5 separate regions of the Homo sapiens genome follow, and regions 2, 3, 4 and 5 are each linked to region 1. The links are contacts of gene promoters, found by promoter capture Hi-C in human tissues and cell types (Jung and others, 2019). All regions are on one chromosome and are shown on one strand. The core of a region is centred on a gene start or on the middle of the fragment in contact, and the rest is flanking DNA. Distances in the headings are between cores, read along the strand shown.

Evidence for each region. Contacts are between HindIII fragments. The study calls those that stand out against the background at their distance.
Region 2: a contact is called between the fragment with the promoter of SLC6A16 here and the fragment with the promoter of ADM5 in region 1, in 1 of the 25 tissues and cell types used here (stomach).
Region 3: a fragment that was not itself captured here is called in contact with the fragment with the promoter of ADM5 in region 1 in 1 of the 25 tissues and cell types used here (hippocampus).
Region 4: a fragment that was not itself captured here is called in contact with the fragment with the promoter of ADM5 in region 1 in 1 of the 25 tissues and cell types used here (stomach).
Region 5: a fragment that was not itself captured here is called in contact with the fragment with the promoter of ADM5 in region 1 in 1 of the 25 tissues and cell types used here (pancreas).

The regions. Positions count from the first base shown.
Region 1 is chr19:49,687,018-49,691,079 of GRCh38, forward strand. ADM5 (adrenomedullin 5 (putative)) reads left to right here and starts at 2,577. Exons shown (of 2, transcript NM_001101340.2): 1 at 2,577-2,894; 2 at 3,089-3,558. The coding sequence starts at 2,821. The coding sequence ends at 3,476. It overlaps PRMT1 (protein arginine methyltransferase 1), which reads left to right. Exons shown (of 11, transcript NM_001536.6): 11 at 1,145-1,430. The coding sequence ends at 1,228. It also overlaps a transcript of CPT1C not described here. RefSeq lists enhancers at 176-917, 918-1,658 and a silencer at 2,967-3,036. The HindIII fragment of the contact is 11,781 bases long and covers 1,267-4,062 here.
Region 2 is chr19:49,322,886-49,326,947 of GRCh38, forward strand. It overlaps SLC6A16 (solute carrier family 6 member 16), which reads right to left and starts at 2,306. Exons shown (of 12, transcript NM_014037.3): 1 at 2,163-2,306. RefSeq lists an enhancer at 3,470-3,619. The HindIII fragment of the contact is 19,669 bases long and covers 961-4,062 here.
Region 3 is chr19:50,027,750-50,031,811 of GRCh38, forward strand. It overlaps ZNF473 (zinc finger protein 473), which reads left to right. Exons shown (of 5, transcript NM_015428.4): 2 at 3,143-3,342. The coding sequence starts at 3,334. Among named protein-coding and RNA genes, the nearest start is that of ZNF473, 3.8 kb to the left of the region's middle. The HindIII fragment of the contact is 4,342 bases long and covers 162-4,062 here.
Region 4 is chr19:49,344,305-49,348,366 of GRCh38, forward strand. It overlaps TEAD2 (TEA domain transcription factor 2), which reads right to left. Exons shown (of 13, transcript NM_001256660.2): 10 at 2,886-3,059. Among named protein-coding and RNA genes, the nearest start is that of CD37, 11 kb to the left of the region's middle. The HindIII fragment of the contact is 5,882 bases long and covers 1-4,062 here.
Region 5 is chr19:49,990,551-49,994,612 of GRCh38, forward strand. VRK3 (VRK serine/threonine kinase 3) reads right to left here. Exons shown (of 15, transcript NM_016440.4): 10 at 2,310-2,402. Among named protein-coding and RNA genes, the nearest start is that of SIGLEC16, 23 kb to the left of the region's middle. RefSeq lists an enhancer at 3,714-4,062. The HindIII fragment of the contact is 7,768 bases long and covers 1-4,062 here.

The DNA.
Region 1 (4,062 bases), core at 1,327-3,826:
GGGTCAGTGACATGGTGATGCCAGTTGGAGGTGACCTCTGTCAGGCTGGGAGCAGGGCAGACAGGTGTTGGTGTAGGTGGGCTCCAGGGCAAGAGGCAGCCCCCAGTAGAGTGCACGGGGTTTTCTAGCCCAGCTGGGAGGCATGAGAGGAGAAAGGCAGCTTTTTGTTTTCTGCTCCCCTTTCTTTTTCCTCCTGAGCACTTGGCAGGAGCTGCCATCACCTGAGATCAGGGGGCTTCCGGGGGAGCTGGGGGGGCTTCTCGGAGACAGGGTCTGGGCAGAGATCCAGTGTGGTGGGTCTGAGCAGGCAGGAGGATGGAAGGCTTGGAGCCTGGAGTCGCCGGGAGTGGTCTGGGTTGGAAAAGTGGGTCCCGGCCGATGGGTGCGAGGGTGGGTGGCACTCAGGGTAGTCATGGAATGTGGACCCTGGGACACCCACGAGCCTGTGACAGCAGCAGTTGTCAACTGGGCAGTTTTACTGCCCCCTCCGCTCCCCGCCCCCCCCCAGGACGTTTGCCACCGTCTGTGGAAACATTTGTGGTTGTCACTCCGGAGAAGGGGTGGTCCTGGCATCTGGTAGGTAGGGGCCAGGGGGCTGGTAAATGTCCTGCAGCCACAGGACCACCCCCTACAAAGACTCATGCAGCCCCCGGGACCACGGCACTAGCTGGGAAACGGATACTGGAGAGGGAGGAGGAGTCCTCGGGCGTTGGTGACTTTGTCTCATCTTCATGTGCTGGAGGGTATGGGGGGAGGAGAGGAAGTGGAGACAGCAGGCTGGACCATTGTGTTTCACTGGAACGTTTGCCTGAGGAGGAAGTGGGCTTGGGAGAGGTTTTCTTTTTTATGAAAGAAGCAATCACTGCATTGCTGATGGGAATCATCCTGATGGAGAAATCCAAGGGCAAGGGACAGCAGCTGGGCTCTACTCCTGAGTGAGTCTAGTGGGCTTGGGGGTGTCCATGTGGTGCTGTCCCTTGGCAGGGTCAGGGCAGCTGCTAGGGTGGGACCAGCAGTTGGGGTCTGCAGCGTGGAGATGGGCAGGAAGCTGGAGCCCGGCTCATCGTCGCATAGCCTGCCTGCACCCGCCCCCCGCCACCACCTCCTGGTGGGTTCCGCCCTCATGCCCCACCTCTCCCTGCAGCGGGACCTGGACTTCACCATCGACCTGGACTTCAAGGGCCAGCTGTGCGAGCTGTCCTGCTCCACCGACTACCGGATGCGCTGAGGCCCGGCTCTCCCGCCCTGCACGAGCCCAGGGGCTGAGCGTTCCTAGGCGGTTTCGGGGCTCCCCCTTCCTCTCCCTCCCTCCCGCAGAAGGGGGTTTTAGGGGCCTGGGCTGGGGGGATGGGGAGGGCACATCGTGACTGTGTTTTTCATAACTTATGTTTTTATATGGTTGCATTTACGCCAATAAATCCTCAGCTGGGGTCTGGCTTTGTTTCCTGGGGGCAAAGGAGGTTTGGGGTTCCTTTCGCAGGTACTGCAGTGCCAGCCTCAGCAGTGGGGGGACCGGCCTTGGCACCTGCTGGTGGCTGCCATTCTGTGGATCTGCGTCTCCCGTCCCCCGTCTCTAGGCCTCTTGCTCCCCTTCCTTGGTTCCTTCTCGGGGTCCCTGTCCTCCACAGCTGTCTCTCAGGGTCTTTGTCCAACTCTTTTCATCCCTCTCCTGGGTCTGCGCCCCTCCCCTCTGCGGTACCCGTGTCCTGCCTAGTAGGGGATGGGGGTGGCTTTCCAGCACAGCCAGCCCTCAAGTTTCCCAGAACAGTCTCCCCACCTCCCCCCAACACTCGACATTGTTCCTCTCTGGCTGTTTTTTCCTGTTCGGGTCCCTTCAAGGCCCAACTGTGCCCAGCCCTCTGCAGCTGGGGACACTGAGTGGGTTGGGGGTGTATGTTTGCAAGGATAGAATTTCTCATGGGGGAGTGGCCCTGCTTCCTCCCCTAGAATGGCTTGGGGCTTAGGGCTGGGGACTTGCCCTCCATGGAGGTCAGTGGGAGTTGCAGCTGTAAGGTGGCAGGGCCTACCCATCTTACAGAGGTGAAGACGAGGTCCCTCTGCCTCTGCTGCAGACATGGCGTCTGCACCCACCCTTCCACCCTCAGGGCCTGGCCACGGGGTCCTGGGTCCCCCACAATACTGTGCACTCGACCTGGTTGACCCAGGACACCCTCCTCGTTGAACAGCCCTGGCTACACCTGCTTCAGTGCAACTGGAGCCCTCACCGGCGAGTGCCTGACACCTCGGCCTTTTCTCTTCCGGAGGGGCGCTCCTCAGTGTGTTTGGGGTCTCCCTCGCTCCACGCCCTCCAGGGGGCCGCATGTGCACTTGCCCTGCATTGCCTGGCCCCCGAGGTTCCAGGGTCCCAACTGTCTACTAACCGGCTTCCCGACAGGGTGAGGGTGAGGTCGCATCTACAACCAGAGCCAGCGCTTCCCCGCCGCCACCCCTTTTCTTGGAATCCCGCTGCTTAGCTACCTGCGGGTGTCATTGGCCCCGCCCCATTTCCCCACGCTTTGAAGGGGGCGAGTCTCCACAGACCTCCTAGGGGGATAGACAGCAGCTGGTGTGACCCCACACACCCAGTGAGGTCTCTGGAGCCGCGGTGCGGGAAGCGGGGACCCGGGTTTGAATCCTGCCCCTCTGGTGTGGTGCGGCCTCTTCCCACAGACTTTTGGCCTCAGTGTTCCCCGCCTGGGAAGTGGGGACTGGCCCTGGTACCTGGCTCCAGAGCTGCACCCAGAGGCGATCAGCCCGGTGCGGGAACGGGGCGGGGTGGCCGCAACTACGGGCCACGGATCCTGACCCGCCCTGCCCACGATGACTATCCACATCCTCATCCTGCTGTTGCTCCTCGCCTTCTCCGCCCAAGGGGACCTGGACACTGCAGCCAGGTGAGAAACCCGGGTGGCAGCAGGGACAGGGCGGGAGGGAGACCGTAAAGGGCGAGCGCCCTCTCCCGGCCGCGGAACGGGCAGGTGATCTGTAAGCCTCCCCGCTGGTCTTGGAGTGCTTGGGTGCCCACCTCCATCACGCTCCATCTCTCAATTCGGTTTGAACCCGGTTTTCTCCCACGCTCCCTCTCCAGGCGAGGCCAGCACCAGGTCCCCCAGCACCGCGGGCACGTCTGCTACCTGGGCGTATGCCGGACCCACCGCCTGGCGGAGATCATATACTGGATTCGCTGTCTCCACCAAGGAGCCCTCGGGGAAGGCCAGCCACGAGCCCCAGGACCCCTACAGCTATGGGCGCCGCCGGTGGCGCGAGGCGGAAGCCCGGCTCGGTTCCCAGGATTCCGGCCTGCAGCGAGGGGGCTAGCGCAGTGCCCAGCTCGCTGGGTGACCTCGGGCACGGCTCGTCCCCTCCTCGGCTTCAGTTTGCCTATCTGTATGTTGGAGCTTCTACTCCACATTTCTTCTCCCCTAACTCCAGCCCCTGAAACCGTCTTCCCCAGTCCCTCCCCGGGCTGCGACTAGGTTGGACCTAGAAGCACACGGGACCAGGCTGGGCGAAGAACACTGACGCCCAGAGCCGAATAAACAAGAGTTCCGTGTTTCAGTCTCTGCTTCTCTGTACCTATTTCGACCTCTCAGTCGAGGCTGGGTCTCTAATATACCTTTCTCTATTAGCCATGCTGCTTCTCCCTCACGGAAGTCCCACTGTCTACCTTGAATCCAACCCGCTGTGGCGCCTTTCTTGCCAACTCAATCCATGCACCTTCCGTGGGTGGTTTTGGCGGGCCGTCCTGACCCCCAAACATCCCTCCTCCCTCCCTGGCGTGAAAGGGCTGAGATTTGCTCCGGCACCCTACGCGCCTGACGTTATAATGCACCTGGGGTGGGCTGCGACCTCCCAGCTGAGCCTTGTTCCTCGAAGAGACAGGAGACTAAGAGACAATGAGCTGAGTGAGGAGCCCAGGAACCCGGGTTCCGAACAGCTGCGTAGAATGCGAGCGGCCAAATGGTGGAGAATCTGGCCGGGTAAAAGGAGACGGAGGACTGGGGATCGAACGGATGTAGGGGATTGGACGCCGTGGCTCGAAGGGGGCGGGGATAGAACGCG
Region 2 (4,062 bases), core at 1,056-3,555, 360 kb before region 1:
AAAACTAACATGAAATCTCAAGGGACCCTGAACAGCCAAAATAATCTTGAAAAAGAAGAAAAACGCTGGTGTACTCACATTTCCTGATTTCAAAACATATTACAAAGCTATAGTAATCAAAATAGTGTGTTACTCACATAAAGATACAGACCAAGGGAACAGAATAGAGGGCCCAGAAACAATGTATGGAAAAATGATTTTTTACAAGGGTGCCAAGACTACTCAATGAGTAAAGGACAGTCTTTTCAACAAATGGTGCTGGGAAAACTGGATTATGTACAGGCAAAAGAGTAAAGATGGACTCTTACCTAACACCACATACAAATACACAAAATAAATCAAAGACCTAAATGTAACACTTAAAATTATAAAATTCTTAGAATAAAACATACGACAAAAGCTTCATGATAGTGGATCTGCAATGAATTCTTGGATATGATACCAAAGGCAAAAGCAACAAAAGAAGAAACAAACAGGATTTCATTAAAATGTTTTAAATTTGTGCATCAAGAGACACTATCAAAGGGGTGAAAAGATAACCCACAGAATGGGAGGAAATATCTGAAAATCATATGTATAATAAGAGATTAATATTCAGAATATATAGAGAACTCGTAAAACTCAACAACAAAGAAACAAACAACACAATTCAAAAATGGGCAAAAGACTTAAATAGACATTTCTCCAAGGAAGATATACCAATCTCCAAGAAGTACATGAAAAGATGTTCAACGTCACTAATCATTAAGGAAATGCAAATGAAAACTACAATGAGATAATACCTCGCATCCATTAGGATGGCTAATATAAAAAGGCAGAAAATAAGAAGTGTTGGTGAGGATGTGGAGAAATTGGAATCCTTGTGCCTTGCTGGTCAGAATGTAAAATGGTGCAACCACCATGGAAAACACTATGGTGGTTCCTCAAAAACTTAAAAATAGAATTACCATATGATCCAGCAATTCCACTTCTGGGTATACACCCAAAATAAGTGAAAACCAAGCCTCCAGTGGCTCAGCCTGTAATCCCAGCTCTTTGAAAGGCTGAGGTGGAAGGATTGCTTGAGCCCAGAAGTTCGAGGCTGTAGTGAGAGGTGATCATGCCACTGGACTCCAGCCTGGGAGACAGAGAGAGACCCTGTCTCTTAAAAATAATAATAATAGGCTGGGCACGGGGGTTCACACCTGTAATCTCAGCACTTTAGGAAGCTGAGGCGGGTGGATCGGCTGAGGTCAGGAGCTCGAGACCAGCCAGGCCAACACAGTGAAACCCCGTTTCTACTAAAAATACAAAAAATTAGCTGGGGGTGGTGGCGCACGCCTATAGTCCCAGCTACTTGGGAGGCTGAGGCAGGAGAATCGCTTGAACCTGGGAAGCAGAGGTTGCAGTGAGCTGAGATCGTGCCACTGCACTCCAGCCTGGGTGACAGAGTGGGACTCCATCTCAAATAAATAAATAAATAAAAAATAATAGATTCATGTTTCTTAAACACATTCTAGAACAGTTGTCCTTAAAAGCAAGCTTTACGGAAGGGAGAGAACTGAGTTTTGGCCAGCTGGCCACTTCCAACATCCATAAAGCCCCTTGAGCCCCAGGCGGACTCCTCTTCCCATATGGGTGCAACCCTCCATGGTGCCCCTACACCGTCATCCCAAGCAACTCCTAGGCTCATGCCCTGTGGGGAGTGCTCAGGATCCCCCAGAAATGCCCATTCCCCTCACATTACCTCCTTCCCTGGAACTATAACCTCCAGAAAAGGAAAATAAGGAGCTGGTGTCCCATTTCTGCAAAAAGCAGAAAATAACTGCCCTAACAGACCAGTGATGGGGCTAGACCCGGGTTTCTGCCACTCGGGCACTTGACACTGATGGCTTTCCCCAAAGGCAGGGACTGATGGCCGAATCCTGTCAAGGAATTGGCTCAAACTCGGACTGGATGAGTGAGGAGAGCCGAAGACAGTTTCCTCTGTCCTACGTGGGGGGTAAAGGAGGGACCCCTTTGATCCCTCAGCTCCACAGAGCCCAGGGCAACCAGGAGGCTCCCAGCCAGTCACCTGTCACCCGTCAGTGGAGCCCAGTGGGCCCGGGCCTCGAAAATGGCGCCCAGCCCCACACACCCCAGATGTGGGAACATTTTAGGGCTCCCTGGGCCGTGACCCTCACCCTAGCCCCAAGGCTTCTGCCAGGTTCTTCAGTCCAGCCAGTCGGACAAAAATGAGGGTGAAGAAGCCCCAGCTGAGAAGCCTAGCAATCTCCTCAGGCCCCTTCAGGCGTCGACAGATCGGTTTGGGCGACACCCCTCGATCTGCCTGGCGCGCGGCCTTTCCCGCCGATTCTCTGCGCATGCGCCGCCGCGCCCCCTCACTCTTTCCCTACAGCTGTAGCAAACACTGTAACCACTTCGCCCTCCCCAACTCCCTGCTCTCTCCCCACACGCACGCACGTGTGCACATCCTCTGACTGCTCACGCGCCACTCCCTTCCCCACCGCACCCCACCCCGACACCCACGATGCCACGCTTCAGGCGGGGCTCTAAGACAAGGCCTTTCTCTGGCACATGCACTTTGCTTCCACTTCATGTAAGGAAGAAGAGGGTAGGAAGTGGGAGAATCGTCTCATTCATTCCTTCTAGCCTTCAAACCTTTCGCATTTACTTAAAGATCGCCTACTAGAAACCAAACCTTAAATATGCGTCCAACAAGGCAGACAGGGACGTTGCCTTAAGAGAGCTCAGAAGCCTACTAGGGCTGCAGACAAGAATTAAAAACTCAAAGATTTACTTAGGTCATCCGTTCTCATACTTTCCGGTCTCTTAAGAATTATTAAGGACTCCAATAATTTATGAGTTACATTTATATGGGTTGTATGTTTATGTGAGTTGTATCTATCAATATTAAAATAAATTTCTAAAATAGTCATTGTTTAAAAATTCATTATGTGTCAAAATAACATTTTTATTTAAAATAACTATAATTTCTACTCCAAAAGAAATTTTGGCGCTGGGCGCGGTGGCTGACGCCTGTAATCCCAGCACTTTGGGAGGCCAAGGCGGGTGGATCACGAGGTCAGGAGTTCGAGACTAGCTTGGCCAACATGATGAAACCCCGTCTCTACTAAAAGTCAAAAAAAAAAAAAATTAGCCGGGCGTGGTGGCACACACCTGTAATCCCAGCTACTCGGGAGCCTGAGGCAGGAGAATCGTTGGAACCCAGGAGGCAGAGGTTGCAATGAGCCGAGATTTTGCCACTGCACTCCAGCCTAGACAACAGAGCAAGACTCCGTCTCAAAAAAAAAAAGGAAAAAAAAGAAAAAATTTGGGGAGAAGAATGGCATCATTTTACATTTTTGCAAATCTCTCTAATGTCTGGCTTCATAGAAGACAGCTGGATTCTCATATCTGCTTCTGCACTGAGTGTGTCAAAATAGCTCATGTCTTGTAGCTTCTGGCAAACATCACTATATTCAAAGAGGAAATGAAAGTGAAAGGCAAATAATATCTTAGTAGTATTATGAAAATAATGTTCACCTCATGGACCCCCAAAAGTGTTTCAAGAGCCCCCAGGAGTCCCTGAGCCACACTTTGAGAATGAAAGGCTTAAATTGTTATGATTGAACAAAGAGATGAAGAGGAAATTTTGGGGGTGCTGTAAGAATTCATCACAATCTTTGGGAATCATTCAATCTTTCAACACGTATTTATCGAGAGTCTACTAAATGCTAGGAACTGGGAATAGTGTAGAGAACAAAACAGACCCCATTCCTGCCCTCGTTTTGCTTCACACAACAAGAAAACAGATATATGATGAATCTCAAATAATTACATGATTATAAATTGTATTAAGTGCTATGACAGGCCGGGCATGGTGGCTCACGCCTGTAATCCCAGCACTTTGGGAGGCCAAGGTGGGCGGATCACATGAGGCCAGGAGTTCAAGACCAGCCTGGCCAACATGGTGAAACCCCATCTCTACTAAAAATACAAAAACGAGCCAGGTGTGGTGGTGCACGCCTGTAATCCCAGCTACTCGGGTGGCTGAGGCACAAGAATCACTTAAAACCATGA
Region 3 (4,062 bases), core at 1,083-3,582, 340 kb after region 1:
GAGTTCGGTCTCACTGGAACCTCCACCTCCCCGGTTGAAGCGATTCTCCTGCCTCAGCCTCCCAAGCAGCTGGAATTACAGGCGTGCACCACCATGCCTGGCTAATTTCTGTATTTTTGGTAGATACGGGGGTTTCACCATGTTGATCAGGCTGGTCTTGGACTCCAAACTTCAGGTGATCCGCCTGCCTTGGCCTCCCAAAGTGCTGGGATGGCAGGCATGAGCCACTGCACCCAGCCGCTTTTTAAACTTAAATTTAATTTTTTTGGCCGGGTGTGGTGGCTCATGCCTGTAATCCCAGCACTTTGGAAGGCCGAGGTGGGTGGATCACGAGGTCAGGAGATCGAGACCATCCTGGCTAACACGGTGAAACTCCGTCTCTACTAAAAATACAAAAAATTCTCCGGGCGTGGTGGCAGGCGCTTGTAGTCCCAGCTACTCAGGAGGCTGAGGCAGGAGAATGGCATGAGCCCGGGAGGCAGAGCTTGCAGCGAGCTGAGATCGCGCCACTGCACTCCAGCCTGGGCGACAGAACGAGACTCCGTCTCAAAAAAAAAAAAAAAAACAAATTTAATTTTTTTTTGGAGGCAGGATCTTTCTCTGTCATTCAGGCTGGAGTACAGTGACACAATCATAGCTCACTGCAGCCTTGAACTCCTGGGCTCAAGTGATCCTCCTACCTCAGCCTCCCAAGCGATCCTCCTACCTCAGTCTCCCAAGTAGTTGGGACTACAGGCACGTGCCACCACAACTTGCTCATTTTTAATTTTTTTTTTTTAGAAACAAGGTCTTGTTACGTTGCCCAGGCTGGTCTCGAACACCTTTCAGCCTCCCAAAGTGCTGGGATTATAAGCATCCCCCACTTGCCTAGCACTGGTGGGGGAGCTTTAAATGGGCACCAGTGAACTAACTTCGTGGGATGTAGACCCAATGTTGCCAAATCCTAGGATGTTTCAGAAGTTGGAAACATAATTTTTAGGTGAAATTTCCCAATTTTCAAGTTTGAGACTAGTGAGCCATGCTTGAATTTTCTTTCAAAACATTCTGTCTGCCAACAAACATTATGGGCCAAATATCTGTCAACTGAGTTATACTCGTAGGTTGAGGCTTAACCTCTGACATGTAGAAAAACTCATTGTTCAGTAGAATTAGCATTTATTGTAGGTCTACCATATTCCCATATTTGTAGTCTCAAAAATCTGGACAACTCAGAACAACAAATTTTTTTTCATAAATTTAGTGTCCGTGCCTTACCTGAACTACTACAGGGTATTTTTTAAATATAACTTTAAATTATTCTACCTAGAATGAACGATGATACTTTTCTCTAGGGTAAAGTGTTCAATTATGAAATGCAGCCTGATCCACACTGCGCTGGGACTTTGTTTTGTTTTGTTTTTGTTTTTGTTTTTGAGACGGAGTCTCGCTCTGTCGCCCAGGCTGGAGTGCATGGCGCCATCTCGGCTCACTGCAAGCTCCACCTCCCGGGTTCACACCATTCTCTCGCCTCAGCCTCCTGAGTAACTGGGACTACAGGCGCCCACCACCATGCCTGGCTAATTTTGTTATTGTATTTTTAGTAGAGACGGGGTTTCACCGCGTTAGCCAGGATGGTCTGGATCTCCTGACCTCGTGATCCGCCTGCCTTGGCCTCCCAAAGTGCTGGGATTACAGGCATGAGCCACTGCGGCCAGCCCTGCACTGGGATTTTAATGAAATATGCCATGTATATGCCATATCACCTTTTGAAAATAAAAGTTGAATTTCAAAGCACATCTGGCCTTGGAGTTTGAAGAATTTGTGGACCTGTGTCATTGTTAAGTGATCCGTGCTGCTTTGTGATATGAAATGCTTTCAGCACTCCGCAGATATGTGCTACTTGGTCCACGCAGTGGATACAAATGGGTAAAAATGTCTGTGGTACAGTTTTGCGTATTATGGGTCATGAAAATAACTAGGTGGGCAGTGACTATGATTTTTTAATGAAGTAGAATAAAAGAGACTAGAATAGAAAACATCCCAGTGCATCTTACATTGCAGGGTAAGTATTGCTTCATGAAGCTTTTGTTTAGTTACACTGTGTGTTTGAGTAGTCATGATACTTTTTTTTTTTCTTTTTTGAGATGGAGTCTCACTGTGTTGCCCAGGCTGGAGTGCGGTGGCACCATCTCGGTTCACTGCAGCCTCTGCCTCCCGGGTTCAAGTGATTCTTTGCCTCAGCCTTCCGAGTAGCTGGGATCACAGGCACGTCCCACCAAGCCCAGCTAATTTTTGTATTCTTAGTACAGACGGGGTTTCAGCATATTGGCCAGGCTGGTCTTGAACTCCTGACCTCAAGTAATCTGCCCACCTCGGCCTCCCAAAGTACTGAGATTACAGGCGTGAGCTACTGTGCCTGGCCTATTCTACATATTGGTGGTGTTACTGTGGGTCACGGTTAAAACAAAAGTTGAAATATTTCTGTTGTAGAGATAGTGGCCAGGTGCGGTGGCTCACAACTGTAATCCCAGCACTTTGGGTGGCCCACGAGGGCGGCTTACTTGAGGTCAGGAGTTTGAGAACAACTTGGGCAACAAGTGAGATCCTGTCCCTACAAAAAGTGAAAAAGATTAGCTGGATGTGGTGGCACATGCTTGTAGTCCCAGCTGCTTGAGAGGCTGAGGTTGGAGGATTGCTTAAGCCCAGGAAATTACAGCTGCAGTGGCCCATGATTGTGCCACTGTAGTACTCCAGCCTGGCAACAGAGCAAGACCGTGTCTCCAAAAAAGAGTAACAGTTTCGGAGGCCAATTTACCTGAACTCAAATTCCAGAGATGATAATCAGAAATCCCAGAAGCATTGTTCCATTGGTTCTTTAGACACCTTCGTTCTGTCAACAACTGTAGGTACTTTTACACCTACTGTTAAAGCACCTACTGCGTACTAGGCACCATGCTGGTGCTAAGACACAGCAGTGAGCAAGACAGAAGCTCCCACTGTGGCCATAGACTTTCATCACCAAATCTCCTAAACATGTGCTGACTGACTGTTAGGTGCTAACCCACCATTGTTGGTGGCGAAGCTGTTCTGTAGGTTCTGAAGCACAGTGCAAATGTGGGGCTGAGGTGGCTTCAGTAAATATAGTTGTTGTTGTCCCCTGCAGGGAGACTCACATTGGGACTTGTCCTCCTCCTCCTGGACATTTTGGGGGCTCGTCAGCATGGACAGCGAGTCAGCCATGGGTGGAAGGGAGGCTTTCTCACAGCTCCCTTGTGCTTCCCACAGCCCTGCCAGCCGGGAACACGGAGGGGAAGGAGGAGGAGCTTAAAAGAGGCTACTGAACCCCAGTTGGCCATGGCTGAGGTGAGTTGAAGGTCGCTCTGTCCTAATCGGTCACACCCAAAGGCAGAAAAATTGGCCTTCCTTTGTGGCCGAGGCGAGTTGAAGGTCGCTCTGTGTTGATTGGTCACCCCCATGGCAGGAAAGCTGGCCTTCCTTTGTTTTGGCCTCCCTGTCCCATGGTGGCTCCCAGGCGATCTTTTTTAAAGGAAAGCTCGCATGCTGTTCTTTCCTGTTTGTACTCTTCTGGGAACCCCTATTGCTTATAGAATAAATTCCAGGTTTTTCAGCCTTCCTGTGTGTTCTGGCTTCTACCCTCTTTGCACCATCTTCTGTCATTTCTCTAGATAACAAATACTCCCTTTGGCCTAGTAGTAAAAGTTGATTCTGTACTTTCCAGCAGCTTCCTTTGCTCAGGTTGGGCCCTCTGCTGGAATTCCCTGCCCCTTTTCCATGTGGTAGTGTCTCACACAGCCTTTAAGACCCGGCTCAGTTCCCCCACCCTTCCCTAGGCAGTCAGCACTTTCCTGCTCTAGCCTTCCATAGTACCCCCTGCTGCCTCCACTGTAGCACAGATCCACCTAGATATGGATGTTCCTGCCCATATCTGTCAGCCCCACCAGACTAGATGCTCCTTGGGGACAGGAACTGATGGGGATTCATCTCTGGGTCCCCAGGGCCCAGCACAGGCCAGGAACACAGGAAGCCTCATGAGGTGTTAGTTGAATGAATGAATGAATCAAT
Region 4 (4,062 bases), core at 902-3,401, 340 kb before region 1:
GAGATGAAGTCTCGCTCTTGTTGCCCAGTGCAATGCCGCGATCTTGACTCACTGCAACCTCTGCCTCCCGGGTTCAAGCGATTCTCCTGCCTCAGCCTCCCAAGTGGCTGGGATTACAGGCGCACGCCACCATGTCTGGCTAATTTTTGTATTTTTAGTAGAGACAGGGTTTTGTCATGTTGGCCAGGTTGGTCTCAAACTCCTGAACTCAGGTGATCCACCCACCTAGGCCTCCCAAAGTGCTGAGATTACAGGCATGAGCCACTGTGTCCAGCCAATTCAACCTTTTTCCCTTGAAGCCCGCAACTCAAGAGTTCAGCCCCTTCCAAGGGCCTGGTTACTATGGCAGTTACTTCTTAGCAACCAGTTCAAGATGAATACCTCCCTCTAAGCCCCTCTCACTCTGGTTGCTAAGGCAAGTGGCTACTCCCTAGCAACGGGACCTCACGGAGCCTGAGGAGGCCTGACTCCTCCTCAGAGCACTTCCCCCTCGGCCAAATCTGAGAGGTCAGACTCCCTCCATGACCCCAGTGGCCAAGTGTGTGTAGACAGCTGGCCAAGTGTCACTAGGCCAAGTGGGGCCTAAGGAAGCCTAAGAGCTCATCACACCTTTGGTCTGAGTCACCTCCTTGCGAGGCGCACCTCTTCCTCTTCCTAACTTTAGTTGCTAACACTGTGCCAGGTCCGTCTTCTCAGGGGCCCGACTCCATCTCTCACCGTGGCAAAACCAAAGACCTTACCAGCTGCTCCTCTGAACCCCTTCAGCAGCTGGGCTTCCTAAGGGGGTGGCTCTCCAGTCCTGGGACCTGATAAGGCCTGTCTTAAGCCCCAACAATGTCTAAGCCCTCAGCTGCACATCCCCAGAGCAGTTTCAGGCTTCTGCTTCACATGGCAGAAAGCTCCAGAACCGTGAACAGCAAGCTCCAGAACAACAACACTCCCAGCAAGAACAGTAAAGTTCAGGCCCTCAGCAGGCCTTTCCTTCCTTTCCTTCCTTCCTTCCTTCTTTCTTTCCTTCTTTCTTTTCTTTCCTTTCTTTCCTTCTTCCTTTCTTCCTTTCTTTCTTTCGGCAGGGTCTCATTCTGTCACCCAGGCTGGAGGGCAGTGGCACAATCTTGGCTCACTGCAGCCTCCACCTCCCAGGCTTAAGTGATCCTCCTGCCTCAGCCTCCACAGAAGCTAGGACCACAGGTGCGCACCACCACACCCAGCTAATTTTTTTCATTTTTTGTAGAGTTGAGGTCTCACTGTGTTGCCCAGGCTGGTGTCAAACTCTTGAACACAAGCGAAACTCTCGCCTCAGCTTCCCAAAGTGCTGGGAAGATAGGAGTGAACCACCACACCTAGCCAGGCTTTCTTCTCAGAGACTAGATCCCTCCACCACCTTTGTTACTATAAGAACTAGCACCCCCTAAACATCCAGGCAACATTTATTGAGCCCAGGCCAGGCACTGTGGCTCACACTTGTAATCCCAGCACTTTGGGAGGCCAAGGTGGGTGGATCACTTGAGGTCAGGAGTTCGAGACCAGACTGGCCAACATGGTAAAACCCTGTCTCTACTAAAAATACAAAAATTAGGCCAGGTGCAGTGGCTCATGCCTGTAATCCCAGCACTTGGAGAGGCCAAGGTGAGCGGATCACATGAGGTCAGGAGTTCAAGATCAGCCTGGCCAACATGACGAAACTCCGTCTCTACTAAAAATACAAAAATTAGCTGGGCATGGTCGTGCATGCCTGTAATCCCAGCTACTTGGGAGGCTGAGGCTGGAGAATCGCTTGAACCCAGGAGGCAGAGGTTGCAGTGAGCCGAGATCGCACCATTGCACTCCAGCCTGGGCAACAAGAGCAAAATTCCATCTCAAAAAAAAAAAAAAAAAAAACAATAAAAGAAAATAAAACACATTTATTGAACCCCTGTAGTGTTAGTCATCATACTGGACACCAAACCAAGTAGCCCTAAGAAACACGCAAGATGGGCCCTCTTAGTCCCAATCATATAAATAGCAGCTGACACCAGGCGTCTATATAGGAAGTGCTCAATAAATGATTGCTACATAAATACAGGACTTGGACGGGTGCGGTGGCTCACACCTGTAATCCCAGCACTTTGGGAGGCCAAGGTGGGCAGATCATTTGAGGCCAGGAGTTCAAGACCAGCCTGGCCAACATGGTGAAACCCCGTCTGTACTAAATATACAAAAATTAGCCAGATGTGGTGGCGGGTGCCTGTAGTCCAATCTACTGGGGAGGCTGAGGCAGGAGAATCGCTTGAATCCAGGAGGCGGAGGTTGCCGTGAGCCAAGATACAGCCACTGCACTCCAGCCTGGGTGACAGTGAGACTATGTCTCAAAAATAAATAAATAAACAAATAAATGAATACAGGACTTGGCAAAGCCACTCCATGGCTCTTTTCATCACTTCCTCAAAGCCAGACATTCTCTAGCAACAAGGTCTGGTGAAACTGATGCAAAGCATCAGTCCCCTCTTTAGAAACCAGTCTCCACAAGTCCACTGGCTACGGGGAGGGGTCTTTCCTTAGCAGCACGGCTTGGTGCAGTCAGGTGGGGCACAGGGAAGCCTGGAACATGGCAAGCCCATGCCCAGGACCCTATTAGCTACATGGCCAGGTAACTCACCGTATTAGTTACATGTGGCAATGTCTAGTGGGATCCAGGGAGGCCCAGACACCTCCAACCCACCCTGGGGGCTGGCCTCCTCGGTGTTCCTTGTTGCAAAGGGGGCTGACACTCCAAGCCATGAGGACTGACTGGTAAGTCCCAGGCTGACCTGGTAGGGCCCGCGACAGATTCTCTCAGGGCCAGAGGCCTTTGCTGGGACACCACAGGATTTGTGAGCACTTTTGATTTTGCTGTGAGAACTCACCCAGAACTTGACCAGGAAGAAGGCATGGGGGGGGCCACGATCATATAGCTCTCGGAGGCCACCCTTTTTCTCAGGGAATTTGTCGTAGATCTGCCGGACGTCCACACTCTCGAGCGGCGGCGCTCCGGGGCTGGGGCAGTGCTGGCTGATGTGCACGAACAGGTGCCTCTGGTACTGAGGAGGGTTGGCCGTGGGTGAGAAGTCGGAGGTGAGCTGGATCTCCAGCCTGTGCTGCCTGAGCCCACCAAATGCCGTCACCATCCCCACAGCTCTGGCCAGCTGTTCCACACAGTCCACCCAGCACTGGGCCTGACTGCCACCCATCGTCCCCACTCCTGCTTCTGCACCCAGTCCCCTGCAGCCCTGCAGTCCTACAGTCCCCAACTCCCTGCCACAACTCCCCCAACTCCATCCTCACTGCCTCAGCCTCACCTCAGGCCTCCCACCCTCACCCCAGCCTCCAACCTCGCCTCTCCAGTTCATCCCTCATGTGGCTCCAGACCTGCCCCTGACCCTCCCCTGGTCATGGCCCTCCCATAGCTCCCCAGCAGCCCCAGGGCAAAGCTCACACCCCCTAGGCCTGGTCCTATATAGAACAGGTGCTCATAAATGGTCAATGGATGGAAGAGTGAATGAATGGGAATCCACAGAGGTCTTGTGGTTGATGTTTTGATTGATGTTTATATGGTGTGGCAGAGACTGCTACGTGTTCACAAATCCTGGTTCCTTTACACAGTGTGAAACTACATTTCCCAGGCCGCTTTGCAGTTAGGTGTGACCACATGACTAAGTTCTGGCCAATGGGATGTGACCAGGCCTGAGAGTCGACACATCCAAGTCAGATTCCTAAAACCTCCTGCACAATCTTGACTCTCTCCCTTCCTCCATCTGCTGGCCAGATGCAGAGACTCCATCAGCAGATTCTGAAGCCTTAGAAAATGGCAGAGCCACAAAATGGAAGGAGCCTGGATCCCCAAATCACTTGAGTCCAAGGCTCCTGCTGAACCTACATTGAAATGTTACATGCAACTTATCTGGCATTCAGTCCCTAAGAGTTAGGAGCTGTTTCTTCTAACAGTCGGCCCACTCCATCCTAGCCCAGGAGAAGCTCAAGCACAGAAATAAAATCTTTTCCAAGTTCCTAGTATGCATCACAAAGCCTAGTGAACAGTAGAAA
Region 5 (4,062 bases), core at 660-3,159, 300 kb after region 1:
TTTGTAAAGATGGGGTTTTGCCCTGTTGCCCAGGCTGGTCTTGAACCCCTGGGTTCAAGTGATCCTCCTGCCTTGGCCACTGTGCCCAGTCCATGTCTTCTTTTCAATGGCTGCATCTTATTCCACCATATGGATAGTGGACAACTGTTGGTTTTGTCTATGTAAGACCTATATACACTTCCCCGGCTCCCTGTTTTTCTGTTTACAGTTTGTGGTGTTCATTAAAAAAATAATTTTTTTTTTTTAAGTTTTGAGACAGGGTCTCACTGGGTCACGCAGGTTGGAGTGCAGTGGTATGATCATGGCTCACTGCAGTCTCCATCTCCTGGGCTCAGGTGATCCTTCTACCTCAGCCTCCTGAGTAGCTGGAACCACATGTGTATGCCACTACACCTGGATAGGTTATTATTTTTTATTTTGTACAGATGAGGTTCCCTATGTTTCCCAGGCTGGTCTCGAACTCCTGGGCTCAAGCGATCCGATCCTTCCACTTTGGCCTCCTAAACTGCTGGAATTACAGGTGTGAGCCACTGGGCCTGGCCATGATGGTCATTTTTATGTGGCAACTTGACTGGGCCATGGGGTGCCCAGACATTTGGCCAAACCCTATTCTGGGAGTGTCTATGAGGGTGTTCTGGATGAGATGAACATTGGGGTTTGTAGACTGAGCAAGGCAGATTATTCTCCTTAATGTGGGTGGGTCTCATTCAATCAACTCAAGATGTGAATAGAATAAAAAGCTAAGTAACCAGAAGCTCCTCCTCCCTGACTGCTTGAGCTAGAACATTGGTCTTTTCCTGCCTTTGGACTTGAACTGAAACAACCCCTCTTCTTGGGTCTCAGGCCTGCTGGCCTTTGGATTGGAACTTACATCATTGGCTCTCCTAGGTCTCCAGATTGCAAACTGAAGAATCTCAGGACTGCTTAGCTTCCATTATCAATAAGCCAATTCCTTATAATAAATCTCTACACACACACACACACGCACACACACACACACCCTGCCAGTTCTGTTTCTCTGAAGATTCCTAATGCTTAGTTCCAGGATTTTCATCTGGGATTGCTTTTCCCCAGTTCTCAGTCCACGCAGTTCAGGTCTGTTTCTGCCAGGGCTGCTAAGCTTTGGGGATTTAAGCCTAATTTGCTGGTGGCAATTTTGTCACCATGAGGAATAAGTCTGCCTGACAACGAGCAGTGCAGAAGCATGAGGAGTCCAGAGATGGGAGAGCCGGCTTCCCAATGACAGGGTTTGAGCTCCTGGATCCTGCCGTGCCCGAGACAGTGCAGTCCTGGATTGCTCCATTCTGTGGACTAATACATTGCACACAGTCCCTTTTGGTTTTTGGCTTAAGGCATGTAAAGTTGGGTTTCTGTCATTTGTAATTGTAAGAGCAATTAGAAGTTACTTTAAAATACTATTTAATCAGTATCCCGCTTAAGGTGTTTCCCATTTCACTATTACAATCAGTGTTGCCAGGAACATCTTGTACACTTATCTTTGAACAATCCTATGAATATATAGGTAGGACACCTTCCTAAGACAGGAACTTGTGGATCAAAAAACAGGTGCATTTTGGCCGGGCACGGTGGCTCAGGCCTGTAATCCCAGCACCTTGGGAGGCAAAGGCGGGCGGATCACCTGAGGTCAGGAGTTCGAGGCCAGCCTGACCAACATGGAGAAACCCCATCTCTACTAAAAATACAAAATTAGCTAGGCGTAGTGGCGCATGCCTGTAATCCCAGCTACTCAGGAGGCTGACAGAGAATCGCTTGAACCCAGGAGGTGGAGGTTGTGATGAGCCGAGATCGTGCCATTGCACTCCAGCCTGGGCAACAAGAGTGAAACTCCATCTCAAAACAAAATCAAAGACAAAAAACAGGTGCATTTAAAACTGTGACTGTTATTGCCTTCCAAAAGGGTTTCCCAATTCATGCTTCCAACAGTATATGAAGAATTCCTACTTCCTTATATCCTTATCAGCAATGAATATTATTATCATGCTTAATTTTGTTCAAAGGGTGAAAATAGTATCTTGTTTTAAGTTACATCTCTATAGTTACTAAGGAGGTTGAATATCTTTTCATATTATTTAGCTAGCCTGTGGATTTCTTTTTTTAAGAATTGCTTTTCTTATCCTTTGTCCATTTTCCTACTAAGTTGCTTATCTTATTTATTTGAAGGAGCTCTTTATATATGATGGACAGCAATCCTTTGTCTGTAATAAGCACTATGAAATAAATAGAGATTTGGAGACAGATGGGAACCTGAGCCCAGAGATCTTCCAGAGTGGGCAGGAGCTGGCTCTTACCTGACTCTGGTCCTCTGGATCCACAAAGATATTTTCAGCTGTCACATTTCCATGAACATACTCATTCTCATGGAGGAACTCCAGGGCATCCAGCTGGGGGAAGAAGCAAGTCAGTGTCTGCATGAGCAGTACGACTAACACAGAGAGGCTATGGTGCAGACCAGGAGGGAGCCCCACTATTAAGGCCTGGGGTTGTCCGACACTGTGACTGGGGGTTAAACCTGACTAAATCCGGGGTAGCATGAGGAGCCCGCTGTGACAGCACATTGAGCACGCCTCTAATCAGGCTCTCAGGAAGCTCATCAATTGAGCTAAAGCGTGGCTTCCTATCTACTCCTGTATTTCTCTCTTAGCTGATGACAAACTCAGCAGAGGGAAAAGGGGTTAATGTCTCTCTGCAAAAATGACTCAGCACCTGTGGATATCAAAGAGCTCTTCTCACCTGTCCTAGAGAGCAGAAATAAATCTTGTTAAGCAATTTATATCTTGATCTCCAGCTCCAGCTGTCCCTATGAGCTCCAGACTCTTTTTTTGCTGTGTGTATATATATATTTTTGAGACAGGGTCTTACTCCTGTTGCCCAGGCTGGAGTGCAGTGGTACAATCACTGCTCACTGTAGCCTTGATTTCCCAAGCTCAGGTGATCCTCCCACCTCAGCCTCACAAGTAGCTGGGACTACAGGTGGGTGCCACCACACCCGGCTAATTTTTTGTATTTTTATTAGAGAGGGCATTTTGCCATGTTGCCCAGGCTGGTCTTGAACTCCTGAGCTCAAGTGATCCACCTGCCTCGTCCTCCCAAAGTGCTGGGATTACTGGCATGAGCTGCTGCGCCCGGCCAATTCTTTGATTGTGTCTGCTGCCTGAGTGTCAGCTACATTCTGATCATATCCCCAACCCTCTTTGACCCCAGGGCTCTACTGTCCACCAAATTCTGCTCGTTCTCCTCCTATAGACTCTCCACCCCCGGGGCCCGGGACCCTCCTCAGCCTTGTCCTCTCCCACATGGACCCTCACTCAGATTCTTCTCCCCATTCCAGTCCCTCCCCATATGGCCCCTGAGGGCCTTTCTGTACCCAGAGCTGACCCCGCCCTCCCCTAATCCCAGCACTCTTGTGGCTCTCCAGTGCCCTCAAGACAGATCCCAGCCCCTCAGCCTGCTGTGCGAGGCCCCGTGTGATGTGGTCACCGCTGACCTCTCCAGACCAACTCCATCTCTTCCGCACTGCAGTGCCATACTGCAGATACTGAACATAAAGACCTTAGGACTCAGCATGTCGCTCCCTTGGTACGTCCATCCCTCCAGCGATGCAAACTGGGCCCTCTTACTCTCAATCACAGCAGGGGCCGCTTCTATTCAGAGCACTTGTCATAGTTTGTGCAACTGTTTGATTCACTATTGGCCCCTCCCACTAGACTGTGAGCTCTAAGACACAGAAACCATGTTTATGCTGCTCCCTGCTCTGCACCCAGCCCCGGGGACAGCGTCTGGCACCCAGCAAGTGCCTGATGAATATTTAATGGGGATGAATGAATGAACTAATGAACAAATGCCATATGCTCTCCCTTCCACACAAGCCTTGCCCCAGCTGTATCCTTGGCCGGACCATCCTCTCCTCATCTATCCTCTTCCTCTTCCACCCAGCACTTTGCTATTTCCACTCATCCTGAGAGTCTTGGCTTAGAAACACCCTCCACCAGGAAGCCTAATCTAAGCCTTCAGTTTGAGGCCGGGGCTCCTTCCTCCAATGCT